Linked DNA regions of Homo sapiens: all the other regions are linked to region 1. The links are contacts of gene promoters, found by promoter capture Hi-C in blood cells and fetal thymus (Javierre and others, 2016). All regions are on one chromosome and are shown on one strand. Each heading gives the region's core, a stretch centred on a gene start or on the middle of the fragment in contact. The rest is flanking DNA. Distances are from core to core; before and after follow the strand shown. Region 1 holds the start of NDUFB6 (NADH:ubiquinone oxidoreductase subunit B6). Region 2 overlaps ACO1 (aconitase 1). Region 3 overlaps ACO1 (aconitase 1). Region 4 overlaps ACO1 (aconitase 1).

Region 1 (3,042 bases), core at 189-2,688:
AGACATCTTTAAGCTAAATTTAATTTCACAATATGAAATATTTACTTGGTTCTAAAGTCAAATTTATGAAGTAAGATGTTTCCAGAGATGTCTAGATTCTATCCCTGTCTCCTCTATCCTATTTATTTCCTCCACCATAGGTAGCATCTTTAAAAACCTCAATTGTTTTCATTCCCATTATTTTGAAAATTTAAGAAAATATGTATATATATTGAAATTACCACCATCTTTCTCTTTTTGGGTAAAAGCATACTGTACAAATTCCTATCCATTTTTTTTCCACTTTGTAATGTATTCTGGAGATCACACCACAGATGTATATAGAGTTCTTCCTTATTACTTTTGACGATTGTATTAGCATTTCATTGCTTTGTTGTGTGAAAGTTTTTGGGAAGCCACTGTTTTGGACTAGCTTCACGCACTAGGCCCCAGCAGACCAGACCAAACCAGAATGGAGTCGTTTGTGCTAAGTACCACACAATCAAACTGAACTTTGAAATGGGCCAGTTTCCCAAAAAATAGGAAATTCCCTTAAGTCTGAGTCAGTGAAACAAGGAAGTTTCTTCTGCTTTAACCCTAAAAGTAACTTTGAAACGATGAGTCCACTTTTTGTTCGGTTTCTGCTTTCTTCAGCCCCTATTTGCCAATAAAACCAACCGCCTCTGCTCAGCTGATCAGAACACTCATTCTACTTTATAGAATGAGGTGTTTTTTGATTCTAGAATCACGAATAAGAGTCAATTAAGATTTTTAAACTAATTCGTTGTAATGCTGTCTTTTGACTGTTGTACTACAATTTATTCAAGCAGTCCTTTATTTAGGAATTTGGGGGTAATTTCCAATATTTTGGTATTATGAATCGTGCTGAATAGTCGTGCATGCTCTTTCATATTTTCACCACACGTATTTTTGGGTGAAAGCATGAATTCATCTATGCAATTTTGCTAGATATTAAGCTACTCTTTTCACTATTCCTGTACAGATGGAGGGACAGATGAGACAGCTGCCCAGGGCACTTCAGCAGTTACTGGCATAGCTGGGATTTGAACTGGGATGTAACTATTTTCATACACTCTCTAGGTCATTCCAAGGTGGGAGAGGCAAGCAAATAATTTTGAATCTGGCCAGCATATTCACTGAAACATTTATGCTTATCCTTCCTCCTCCCAGCATACAAGTTCTTCCTTAGCAAAACCTCCAGTCCTCTAATTTAGCATACTTTCGTCTAATCTGTCACTTTCCTCAGGCCCCACAACTACGAGTACTCCTTGTCCCCACCCGGTCCTAATTTGGTCGGGTATAGCGGAGGTGGGCGTAGAGAGAACTGGAGGTGGAGACCTTTGTGCATGCCCACACACTGCTTTCCTCGCGAGGAATCTGGGGCCCTTGCAGAGGCGGAACCAGGATGTGACGTAATAACCGCGCGCGGCGCTCGGCGTTCCCGCAAGGTCGCTTTGCAGAGCGGGAGCGCGCTTAAGTAACTAGTCCGTAGTTCGAGGGTGCGCCGTGTCCTTTTGCGTTGGTACCAGCGGCGACATGACGGGGTACACTCCGGATGAGAAACTGCGGCTGCAGCAGCTGCGAGAGCTGAGAAGGCGATGGCTGAAGGACCAGGAGCTGAGCCCTCGGGAGCCGGTGCTGCCCCCACAGAAGATGGGGCCTATGGAGAAATTCTGGAATAAATTTTTGGAGAATAAATCCCCTTGGAGGAAAATGGTGAGTGACAGACCTCTCCGGTCCCCCCCAACACATCCCACTGCTGCCGGCAGCCTGAACACTGAACGTCCGCTCCCTGCAGCCACACCAAGGACTGATAACGCTCAGTGCTCTGGGACACTGGCCAGTCCCGAGAGTCCTCCTGGAGTCTCGGGAGGCAGGAGTCCAGGAATATGTATGGCTTTGAGAGAATCATGCCTTTTACTGTCAAGTACAGTGGACGGGGGCGAATTTTAATACTTAGGTTTTCCAGGACGCTGCACGTTTGGTTCTCTTTTGACTGTAGAAATCTTCCCTCAGAATAATAACCAAGGACTCGCTAGAATTAAAATTCTGTGATTTAAGTATTTGAGGACACTTGTCTGACTTTTAAGTGTGAGGTTCTAGAGACCAAGTAACACAGTATCCAACCACCAGAGGGCACAGCCAGCCCCTAGCTGATAGTACAGCCCCATGTGATCCCCGTAAAAGACAGGGTCCTGTTGGTATGCCTTGTGAGTCACATTCAAGAGCTACCTTTCTAAACTACCGTTCTGTACTTTTAACACAGTGTTTCATTAAAAAAATCGCATTTTGGGCTTTGAAGAAAATCACTCATTCAAGAACTTTATTTTCAAGGCCTCTGGGTATTTTCTTGAGGACTGTTATGGATGATAAACATCTCAGAATTGCTTTCAGTTACCTGCAACACTTACTGATGACAGGATAATAGTAGTAACAATACTACGTAACACACGGGTGCTTGCTGTGTGCTTGGCACTCTACTGGGGGTTTTACATGTGTTACTTCATTTCTTTATTCCTGTAAGGTAGATATTCCTAATCCTCATTTTAAATGTGAAGAAACTGAGGCCTACAAAGCTTCAGTGATTTGCTGGTGGTCAGGGAGCTAGGAATTGAATATGAGTTCATATTGTAATCAACATGTATCTGATTCTTACTGTGCTACAAAGTCTAGTGCAATAGAATTGTTGAAAATTTTTCTGAGAAAGTGATATTGGATACTTATTTATGGTGGTAAAATTCAACTCTTCTCCCACCCTTTGTATCCCTGACATTATCGGAATATTGGCAGTCACTGATTTAAAGTTGACATCCCATCCATCAGCAAGTGATATAAGGAAGTAAATAAATAATAATGTGTCGAAGTTCACCTTACCTTACTTTAATTTATTCTTTTATAATCATATCTGTTATAATTCTTAGATTCTGGATTGTCCCTTCCTTGAATGGATAGGTGTTTTTTAATCAAGTTGGAAGACATGGGAAAGTTCCATTTTTAGTTCTTTTTTAAAATAGTGTTGCAGAGGGCATTTTGGAGTGAGTT
Region 2 (3,042 bases), core at 269-2,768, 170 kb after region 1:
CCACTGTTTCAATTCCTTTCTTATCTCCCACTCTCTCCTCCTGCTACTTTGTTCTTGGCTCTTTTCTGTTTTATCTGATCTTCATTCAACAATAAAAGATAGGAATGAACAAACGAAGACAATGAATGTGGACATTTTGGAGATGGCAGAGTATCTAAATATATATGGTGTTTTTCTTTTTTGAAAGAGGGAAGAGTTAGCATATATCACACTATTTGGGGTTGCTGCTTTCTTTGTTCTATAGAATGAGATGATACTACATGGTGGCAAGAAGAGAAAAGAGGAGAAGAAAAAAGAAAAAAAAAAGAAGGAAGGAATGGGAAATGGTATCTTTTAAGGTACAAGGTGGGAGCAATTATTCAGAACTTGTCCCTCCGGGACGCTTGTCAGAATGATGAAGACAGCTGAACACTTGTCCCTGGCCACTGAATCAAGGAAGACAGATGAACAGTTCTTAAACAAAAGGAATAAAAACGGAGCTACTGTATCTGAAACCCTTCATTACATGTAGTTCACATTCTGAAAGTCAAGATAATTATTTGGTAGAGAAACAGTGTCTTTCAAAGCTAACCCATCCTGAAATACTAGCTGGGTGACTTGTACAGGGTTATGATTAGCACAGGTACACTCTGCATGCAAGAACGGGGGTGGGCATGGACAGTCTGAACACCAGATTTTTAAAGTAGGTCACTAAAAAATAACAAATATTATGCAAAGGCAGGCAGAACTAGGGTAAGACATTTAACAAATGAGCCATGCTCCCAGTAAAAGGGTGGGAGGAGTGAAGAGCTAGGGTTTTTCCCCAACCACAGTCTTGCTACCAACTGACCTTTGGCTCAATTGAGGACACTTGCAGGTGCCTTGGAGTAGCACCTTTTGTGCATACATAGCATGGCACTAAGGCATGGCACCAACCTGTCACCATTCCCTAGGGACACCTTGACCTTAGGTGCTAAGGAGGTAATGAGACATAGAATGTTGAGTTTTTAGTAAAGAACCTTAGCAATCATGTAGCATTCCCCAGAGGAAGACAGAGAGGCCCTGAAAAGCAACTGACTGCCTAGGGTCACAGGACTCATTAGTGGGATAACCAGAAAAAAAAAAAAATACAGCTGATTTGCCCTCCAGTGAAATGCAAATTTCCCTCAGGGGGAAAAAAAAAACCCTTAAAATCTTTCACAGGTAGAGTTGAAAAAAGTACTACCTAGGTGTATCACAGTCTTTTGGTGCTTCTGTGATGTTAGTTCTATAATCACTTACTAAAACTTCCATGTGTTTCAGAATTCCAGAGAACTGACAGCTAAACTTTGGAAAAACAACTTAAATTTAGGTTTCTGATGATCTGCCCTGGGTGCCACTTTTTTCCAAAAGCCACAGTAAGGGCAAATCAATTTTCCTGATATAATATTGCGTATACAATCCCTTACTCAGATTCAAGATACAAAATGTTAGTAAAGGCTCACATTAAATGATATGAGAATTTTAAAGTTGCAAAATAATATATATATGTATATACTAGGATCTGATTTAAGTGAAAAAAAAAAAAAACTTCAAGACCATTAGTGTATATTCATTCATACACACACACCATTGCATATGCAAATGCACAAAAAAGAAAGACATAAAGTTAACATGGATTACAAATAGAATAACACATTGTATAAAGGGGAGACTTTAGCTTTCTATGTTTCATACTCCTGTATTATTCAAATTCTATTTTTGATAAGCATGCATTCATTTACTACTTACTTCTTAAAACACTGGAGCGGTCATTTAAACTTTGTACATAAATACCTACATTAGCATCTCTATAAAATGAGAACTTGACATCTTCAGCAATACCCTTTGAAAGAAAGATAGAATGGTCCGTAAAGTTCCTGGAACTACAAATGCAGATCTTTCTTTAATAATGACTGGTGAAGATGTATTTAAATTTGTGACTATAACTCCAGATAAAGTCCACTTTGCTCCCCTCAATATGTCCTTTGATATTCACCAACAGAGAGAAAGAGCTGTGAAGAGAATCCCTGAATGGCTCAAATTTAGCCTTAGATGAACAGTGCCACACCTCATTCAAGTCAAACACACTAATCCAAGGGGGGCCCTCCCTTCCCACCCCATCCCCAGCTCCCTTTCCAATCTCAGCAGGATACCAAATTTGTTACTGAACCACATCTTCTTGGGTGGTGGTAACTTTAAAAAATATTACACTAAGGAATAGATACAGCCAGGCGCAGTGGCTTACACCTGTAATCCCAGCACTTTAGGAGGTCGAGATGGGCGGATCACCTCAGGTCAGGAGTTTGAGACCAGCCTGGCCAAGGTGGTGAAACCCTATCTCTACTAAAAGTACAAAAATTAGCCGGGCATGGTGGCACACACCTGGAGTCCCAGCTACTCAGGAGGCTGAGGAAGGAGAATTATTTGAACCCAGCAGGCGGAGGGTGCAGTGAACCAAGATCGTGCCATTGCACTCCAGCCTGGGTGACACAGCGAGACTCCATCGCAAAAAAAAAAAAAAAAAAAAAACAGAAAAAGAAAAAAATAAAAGAAATAGATGCTCACTGTAGCAACAACAGAAAATGCAGGTGAGCAAAAAGAACAAAATAAAATCCTTTGTAATACCATGATTTACAGTTTCATTTACCATGACTTTTAAACGCATTTGAATTTTTCAAAAAAAAAAAATCACTAGACCTCACATTGTTTTGCTAATTGCTTTTTTTCACTCAACAATAAACCTCAAATATCTTAATAGGACAATCGTGTGATATTTTACAGCACTTTAAACTATACCATAAAAATCTATCCTTCAGATATATAACAATTTCCCTATTATTAAAATACTTAGGTTGTTTCCAAGTACTAGCATTCAAACAATGATGCCTTGTATACTCACATCGTTAGTAGGTCCTTAAATCATTTCTTTCAAATAAATTTCTAGCTTTCAGTTCCTAGAAAAGAGCCGAGTGAAAGGATTTGCATATCACCAGGATGCCTGGAAAAGGCTGTACCAATTTTACGACCCTTCTCTGAGGCAGT
Region 3 (3,042 bases), core at 144-2,643, 150 kb after region 1:
CCAGGCTAATGGTTTGACTCTCCCACTGATGCTGCTTTTTATTAGGGGCCATTAATGAATGTGCTGTTCCTATCAAAGTGACTGTTTTCTGAAAAAGATTCTGGTTCTATCTATAGATAACCCGCCTCTTTTGGGGTATAGCCTTTAATTAGGAGAATCTTACACCTGAGCTAATTGTGAAAGCACACCTATGCATTTGCCTTCAACTGGCCACAAAGATTCAGCATTCCACATGATTACCGTTAAAATTAAAACGCATCCCAACCCCACCTGAAACCACTGGCTACTGAGCACTTTCTGGGCACTGTGTCCTAAACATTTTAAATGTATTACCTCAATCTCTAATCCTTTATCATAGTCTTAAGATACAAGTACAATTATTATTCTCATTTATGGATAAGGAAATGGCGGCTCAAGAAGACTAAGTAACTTTCTCATGTAACACAGCCAGTAAACGGTAGAACCAAAATCCAAACCAGAGCTTGACCCAAAAGTTCAAAGTCTTAACTCACGATGCTGCATCACCAGGAATATGACCTTGAACCCTCTGCTATTTAACTTTTATCAAGATCCCGGGGTAGGAGATAATACTCATGAAGTATGCCCAACGGACATGCAGTCCACAATTTCTCTGATGGTTAGAAACAGAAGGTTTGATCCTTTGGCTGATCCTACCACTGATCAGAACTTTTGTTTGTCTATTTGTTTTAGCTGAACTGTAAACGTCATTAGCTCTCAGCACAGACCTCATAAAAGACAGCTGTATGAGCTTCACTAATGTATTTGTCCTGACCTGTTGTTGAGCCCGCTGTTCACTACAACCCATGCCATGCTCTTCATGAAGATGAACAGGAGAAATCTTTCTTAGGGTTTACTATGAGAAAGGGCTACACTATTCTGAAGCAATATGTTTGTTTCAATTTAATAGATGTTACAAATTTGGCACTGGATTACCAAGAAGTATAATGGCCACCTGCAGCACCACGGGAACTAACCAACTAACCTTCCCTCTAGATCCATCTCACAGCTTTTATCCCTCTACCCAGCACACTATCCCTCTCTTTCTTTAGGTTGATTCCCTCAATTATTTATTCTGTTCTTTTAGTTATCTTTTTCACTTAAAATCCTTTGGGAGAACAAAGATGTATTAATCAATTTCAATGTGTTTATATTTAATAAAAACTTCTTTAAATAAACTTTTTCATGACAATCTTTACTATTTCTAGAGGAATTTCCTCAGGCTACAGCAGAAGACTAAGATTTATTTGGAGTCTGTAAGATTCTCATGAAACCCTTCCCATGGCTGTCCCTTCACTTCATCCAGAGATCTGTGCAAGCACCTCTGGGGTACTTCAGCCACCTCCCCTTTCTTTCTCATTATCACATCACACTCTCATTTCTTTTCTTTTTTCTTTTTTTTGAGACAGTCTCTCTGTTGGCTAGGCTGGAGCGCAGTGGTGCGAGATCGGCCCACCATAACCTCCACCTCCTGGGAGTTTCGCCATGTTGGCCAGGCTGGTCTCGAACTCCTGACCTCAGGTCAGATCTGCCTGCCTTGGCCTCTGAAAGTGGTGGGATTACAGGAGTGAGCCACCATGCCTGGACTCATTTCATTTTTTAGACATCCCTGAGAGGGGTGTTGCAGAGTGCTGTTCCTGTATGGGGCCAGGCAGTTGCAGGGTTGGATTCTGACTCTGCTGTTTATTAGCCTTGGGTATGAACACTTCTCTGCTCCTCAGTTTTCTCTAATGTTAATTAACTAGTCAATCAATCTACCCTACAGATCTGTAAAGAGGTTGACAGCAAATACATACTAGGTACCTGGTACACAGCAAGTACCCCATAGGCAGCAGTAACCATTACTAAGATCACTTGTTTAATGTCAAAAAACTAGTAGTAGAGGACCAGTATAAATATCCAGGCTTCTGTAATCTCTGAGCTCTTTCTATTGGCCATACCATCTCTATCTCATATTAACTCCTTAAATCCCAAAAACCCATTTTGACTCCATGGAGAAAAAAATAATTGTGTAACTGTAACCCAGTGCCTTCTGTTGGGTAGAGGCAGAAGGCAGTGCTCAGATTCTTGGTGTTTCATGGAACTTTTACAAAAAGCCCGATGCTTTCAGGGCCCTTCACTTACCTGTTTGCACCAGGTACGTGATACTAACTTCATCAACTGGGAAAAAGGCAGCAGTTGCTCCGTACTCTGGACACATGTTAGCAATCGTAGCTCGGTCAGCAATGGACAACTGGGCTACTCCAGGCCCGAAGAACTCGACAAATTTGCCCACTACCCCAACCTGGCGGAGGTGCTAAGCAGCAGAAACAACAGAAAAGTTTGAGATCTGATGGCCCACATTCAAAATGCAGAACTACCATCTTGCACTTCTTATAAACTAGTCTTGTCAGTAAACCCAAATAGTAAATCAGCCCAACACATTTGTGATCACTTTCAAAACTTAAAAAACAATGCCAACTAAATGCAACATGGTATCCTGGATTGGATTCTGGAGCAGAATTCTGGGACATTACTGAAAAAACTGGTAAAGTCTGTAGTTAAGAGTACCACACCAATGTTAACTTCTTAGTTTCGATAAATGTGCCATGGTTATTTAAGATGTTAACATTATGGGAAGCTGGGAGAAAGATAACAGGAATTCTCTGTACTCTTTATACTAACTCTCCCATAAATCTAAGATGATGTCAAATAGTTTTTATTTATAAAAAGAAAGACAAAGTGTGCCCAAAATACAAATGATATTAAGAAAAATATTTCAAGATGAGAAACATTCTCTTTCTCTAATGAGATCATTGGAAGCGTCTGGAAGTGCTACATATTAAATTCTTTCAACCTAAATAACTACTTGCACTAGTTAAGAAAATAACTTTTCAAAGGCGTAATGAGCAAAATTCATGCTACAAGTATAAGTCAAATGTAACCAAAAGATTCCCATATCTTTTCCACACAAGGCACCAGCCAGGAGTGAGGCCACAGTGACTGACTTAGCTCTGCATAAAGCCAGTTTCTAGCTACAACCAC
Region 4 (3,042 bases), core at 310-2,809, 130 kb after region 1:
AAACAAAAATGTTTGCATATATTTTGTAACCTTTGCCTTGCTACCTCTATAATTCTCCATTTACACCATGTTTTTAGTTAATGTCAGAGTGAAAAATATCACTACACTCATACTACATTCTATCAATGTATAAGAAATGACTTCCGTTATAAAGCGAAGGATGATAAACCTAAAAATCGATCAGCATATGCACATCTGGAAATACTCTGGAGTTCTATTTCTGAAATATTAGTATTAAATACCAAAGAATTGTTTAATTATCTGATGCTGTTGCTTTAAGTAAACTTTTTATTATTTTACTTCAAAGTCTAGAATATCGATAATGAGATGATTCATAGACAGTGATGACAGTAACCTTTTACCTCTGTTATATCTTGAAAAGTCACTTGGTTTTGTGGACTTTTATAGGCCCTCATTTCCAGTAATTGTGTGCTATATTTCAGTGAAATCAGATGTCTAATGTCACAGGAGAAAAAGATGCTTCAGCCTAATTTTGCCATACATCTTCTAGACTGAAGGTCACAATGAAGCGTTTTTTTTACATTAACTTTGTACTCTAAGGGAATTACATCTTGAATACATCTAGGATGACAGAAAATGGCTTAATAAATTTTCAGTTAGTGGTCCTTATTTTTGCCTCATAACACCGTGCTTTCTTCTGTTATATTGCTTTGTAATTGTCTATTTACTGGTCTGTGCCCTACCCCAAATTATAAGCTTCTTGAGCCGGTGATTGTTAAAAAAACAAAAATAAACAAAAGACTTTGTAAGTTAGAACTGTTCTCACACCTAAATTATTTGTAAGTACATATTAATATTTTACATAAAATGTTATCCTCTAGTGATAAATAACACAATAGCTAGTCTTCACTGATTGCTCATAATGTAGAGGCACTATGTAAGCACTTAAATAATTCCTCTCATTCCACCATCCACTAACCCGGGGATGTAGATGCCCTTATTGTCCCCCTTTACCCAGGGAGTCAGTGCTGGTATCTGGTAATTGGACCCATGAAGTCTGACAAATGATATAACATGTTTTAGCAAAGTTACATTGTATCTGGAATCCACATCACAAAACAACATAAAATTTTTCCCTTGATTTTTTTCTACTATTTTAGGTGTATCAGCAGGCACAGAAAGTTCAATCAAAAAAGCAACTTTCAGAACATACCACAGATAAAGTAAATGATTACCTCTTGTGTACTGCTTTTACACTTCCTGCTTCAAAGATGAAATTGTGTTGAATATAGTCTTGATATTAAGCTTAAAGTATGTTTTATTGGGAATCTATAATTGGCAATATACAGCAATAAAGGATGGTACTCCATTAACTAGAACTCCCCATTAGTTTATTATTAATAATTAATAACTGTCATATAATATTAAAATACCCTAAGAGGTCTCTTGGTATCTAGGGCACACTTTTAAGATGCCCAACACCAGGGTCACTTTAGGAGCTTGTTGAAAACATAGATACTTGCGTACTACCCCAGATCTGCTGCATCAGAATGTCTTGCAGGGAGCGTGGGGTGGGAGGGGGCTAGTGATTCTTACAATTTTGAGAACCGTGAACTATAGCGCAATGGTTCTCAACCACTGCTGCATACCAGAATCAGCAGGGGAGGCTTTTAAAATCCCAATGTCCAGGCCTTTCTCCTTACCAATTAAACCAGAATCTCTGGAGATGAGATCCAAACACAGGTATTAAAGTATTAAAAAAAAAAAATCCCATAAGTGTTTCCAAACTTGAGACGCACTGCTACAGAGAGAGGGCAGATTCTTTGGGGCGGTAGATCTTTTCTAGGGTTTTAGGGATAGATGGATGTATTCTAGGGAGGTAGAAAGCTTTCTAAACACACCCTATTCATGTCACTAGCTCTGTGTAAAGGCCATGCTGCTTTGCTTCAGAAGCTGTAAATCATAGCTGTCCACTGCTCTCTGTAAGTACAGTCCAGCACGGCTACGTGGCCCAGCCTGGACAGCTACAGAACAGAAGACTGTATGGCTTCCTGGGCAGCCAGAACTCAAGCGGTTCTATAGAAAAGTCTGGACTCTAGAGAACCCCTGGGGGCCAGTTCTCTTCTTATCCTCTATCAGATCTTAGAGTTCCCTACCTGAGTGCTGACTGCCTGGGTTGCATTTTGGCTACAGCTCCCAACCCCCTTCCTAAAATCCTTTTCTTCTGCAATTATCTGGTTCTTTTCAATAGTTTCCAGAAAAGACAGGCCTTTGACCTACTATCAACTAATCAGAGAACATTTCTATTTTCCTCAGAGCAAAATAACCAATTAAAATAATAGGTGTGATGTTCAAAGACATTATCAGAAGCCTAAATGTCTGGAGAACTGCCTGCCAGACAGCCACATTTTTTTACTGTACTTGTGGATATGAACTTAGTGTTTCCGAGGTGCATTAATTTGCGAGCCACAAATGATTTAAATTGACATCAGGTAAGCCATGTGTACCCCACCCTGAAGATTCAGGCTGGGTGGCATGATTCTTCTCTGCTTTTAGGGCAAGCAAATGCTCAAGAGGCAAAAGCTCTCTGCTCCCTGCATGGCCCCTTCTATGGGGACACCTCAAGAGGTAGAGCCCCGAGATGGCGGAAGGTTCTAAAGAGCTGCCTGGGTATGTGCAGAGTGAGTTTCACTCTCATCGAGAGCCCATAAGCAGATATTCATAGGCAGTGAAGTGCAATTATAAAAAGTGATTCTCCCAATTTTCCAGGAGACTTAGAACCCATTCTTGCCAAAGTAACTCCTGAAAAAGTCCAGGCTCCTTTTCTCTTCTGTGAAACTGACAGATAATACAATGGCCCTGGCTTATTCCTGACATTCACCTGGAACAAGGGACCTGAATAAATTTGGGGTCCTCAGCCTCTGAGAATGTTATAAAAGCCATGACACCTCTCCCCATGAAAGACATACATGTATACTTCTGGATATGTTTTCAGAGACTTCACAGACCCTACCCCAAAACTGTTCTATAGACATGCCCCCAAGGTCCATTAATGAATGATAGATCCAGTTCAACTCTGCA

The links. The method cuts DNA at HindIII sites, captures the fragments that hold promoters and counts their contacts. A CHiCAGO score of 5 or more calls a contact.
Region 2: a contact is called between a fragment that was not itself captured here and the fragment with the promoter of NDUFB6 in region 1, in 13 of 17 cell types (neutrophils, naive CD4 T cells, naive B cells and 10 more). The highest score is 11.5, in neutrophils.
Region 3: a fragment that was not itself captured here is called in contact with the fragment with the promoter of NDUFB6 in region 1 in 5 of 17 cell types (non-activated CD4 T cells, erythroblasts, M2 macrophages and 2 more); the score reaches 6.2 in non-activated CD4 T cells.
Region 4: a fragment that was not itself captured here is called in contact with the fragment with the promoter of NDUFB6 in region 1 in 9 of 17 cell types (megakaryocytes, M2 macrophages, M1 macrophages and 6 more); the score reaches 8.8 in megakaryocytes.

The regions. Positions count from the first base shown.
Region 1 is chr9:32,571,555-32,574,596 of GRCh38, reverse strand. It overlaps NDUFB6 (NADH:ubiquinone oxidoreductase subunit B6), which reads left to right and starts at 1,438. Exons shown (of 4, transcript NM_002493.5): 1 at 1,438-1,716. The coding sequence starts at 1,537. RefSeq lists enhancers at 1,031-1,080, 1,351-1,890. The HindIII fragment of the contact is 6,496 bases long and covers 1-2,578 here.
Region 2 is chr9:32,399,454-32,402,495 of GRCh38, reverse strand. All of the region lies in intron 1 of ACO1 (aconitase 1), which reads right to left. Among named protein-coding and RNA genes, the nearest start is that of ACO1, 16 kb to the right of the region's middle. The HindIII fragment of the contact is 7,739 bases long and covers 1-3,042 here.
Region 3 is chr9:32,420,128-32,423,169 of GRCh38, reverse strand. ACO1 (aconitase 1) reads right to left here. Exons shown (of 21, transcript NM_002197.3): 8 at 2,143-2,314. Among named protein-coding and RNA genes, the nearest start is that of ACO1, 37 kb to the right of the region's middle. The HindIII fragment of the contact is 5,989 bases long and covers 1-3,042 here.
Region 4 is chr9:32,440,773-32,443,814 of GRCh38, reverse strand. All of the region lies in intron 19 of ACO1 (aconitase 1), which reads right to left. Among named protein-coding and RNA genes, the nearest start is that of ACO1, 58 kb to the right of the region's middle. The HindIII fragment of the contact is 582 bases long and covers 1,269-1,850 here.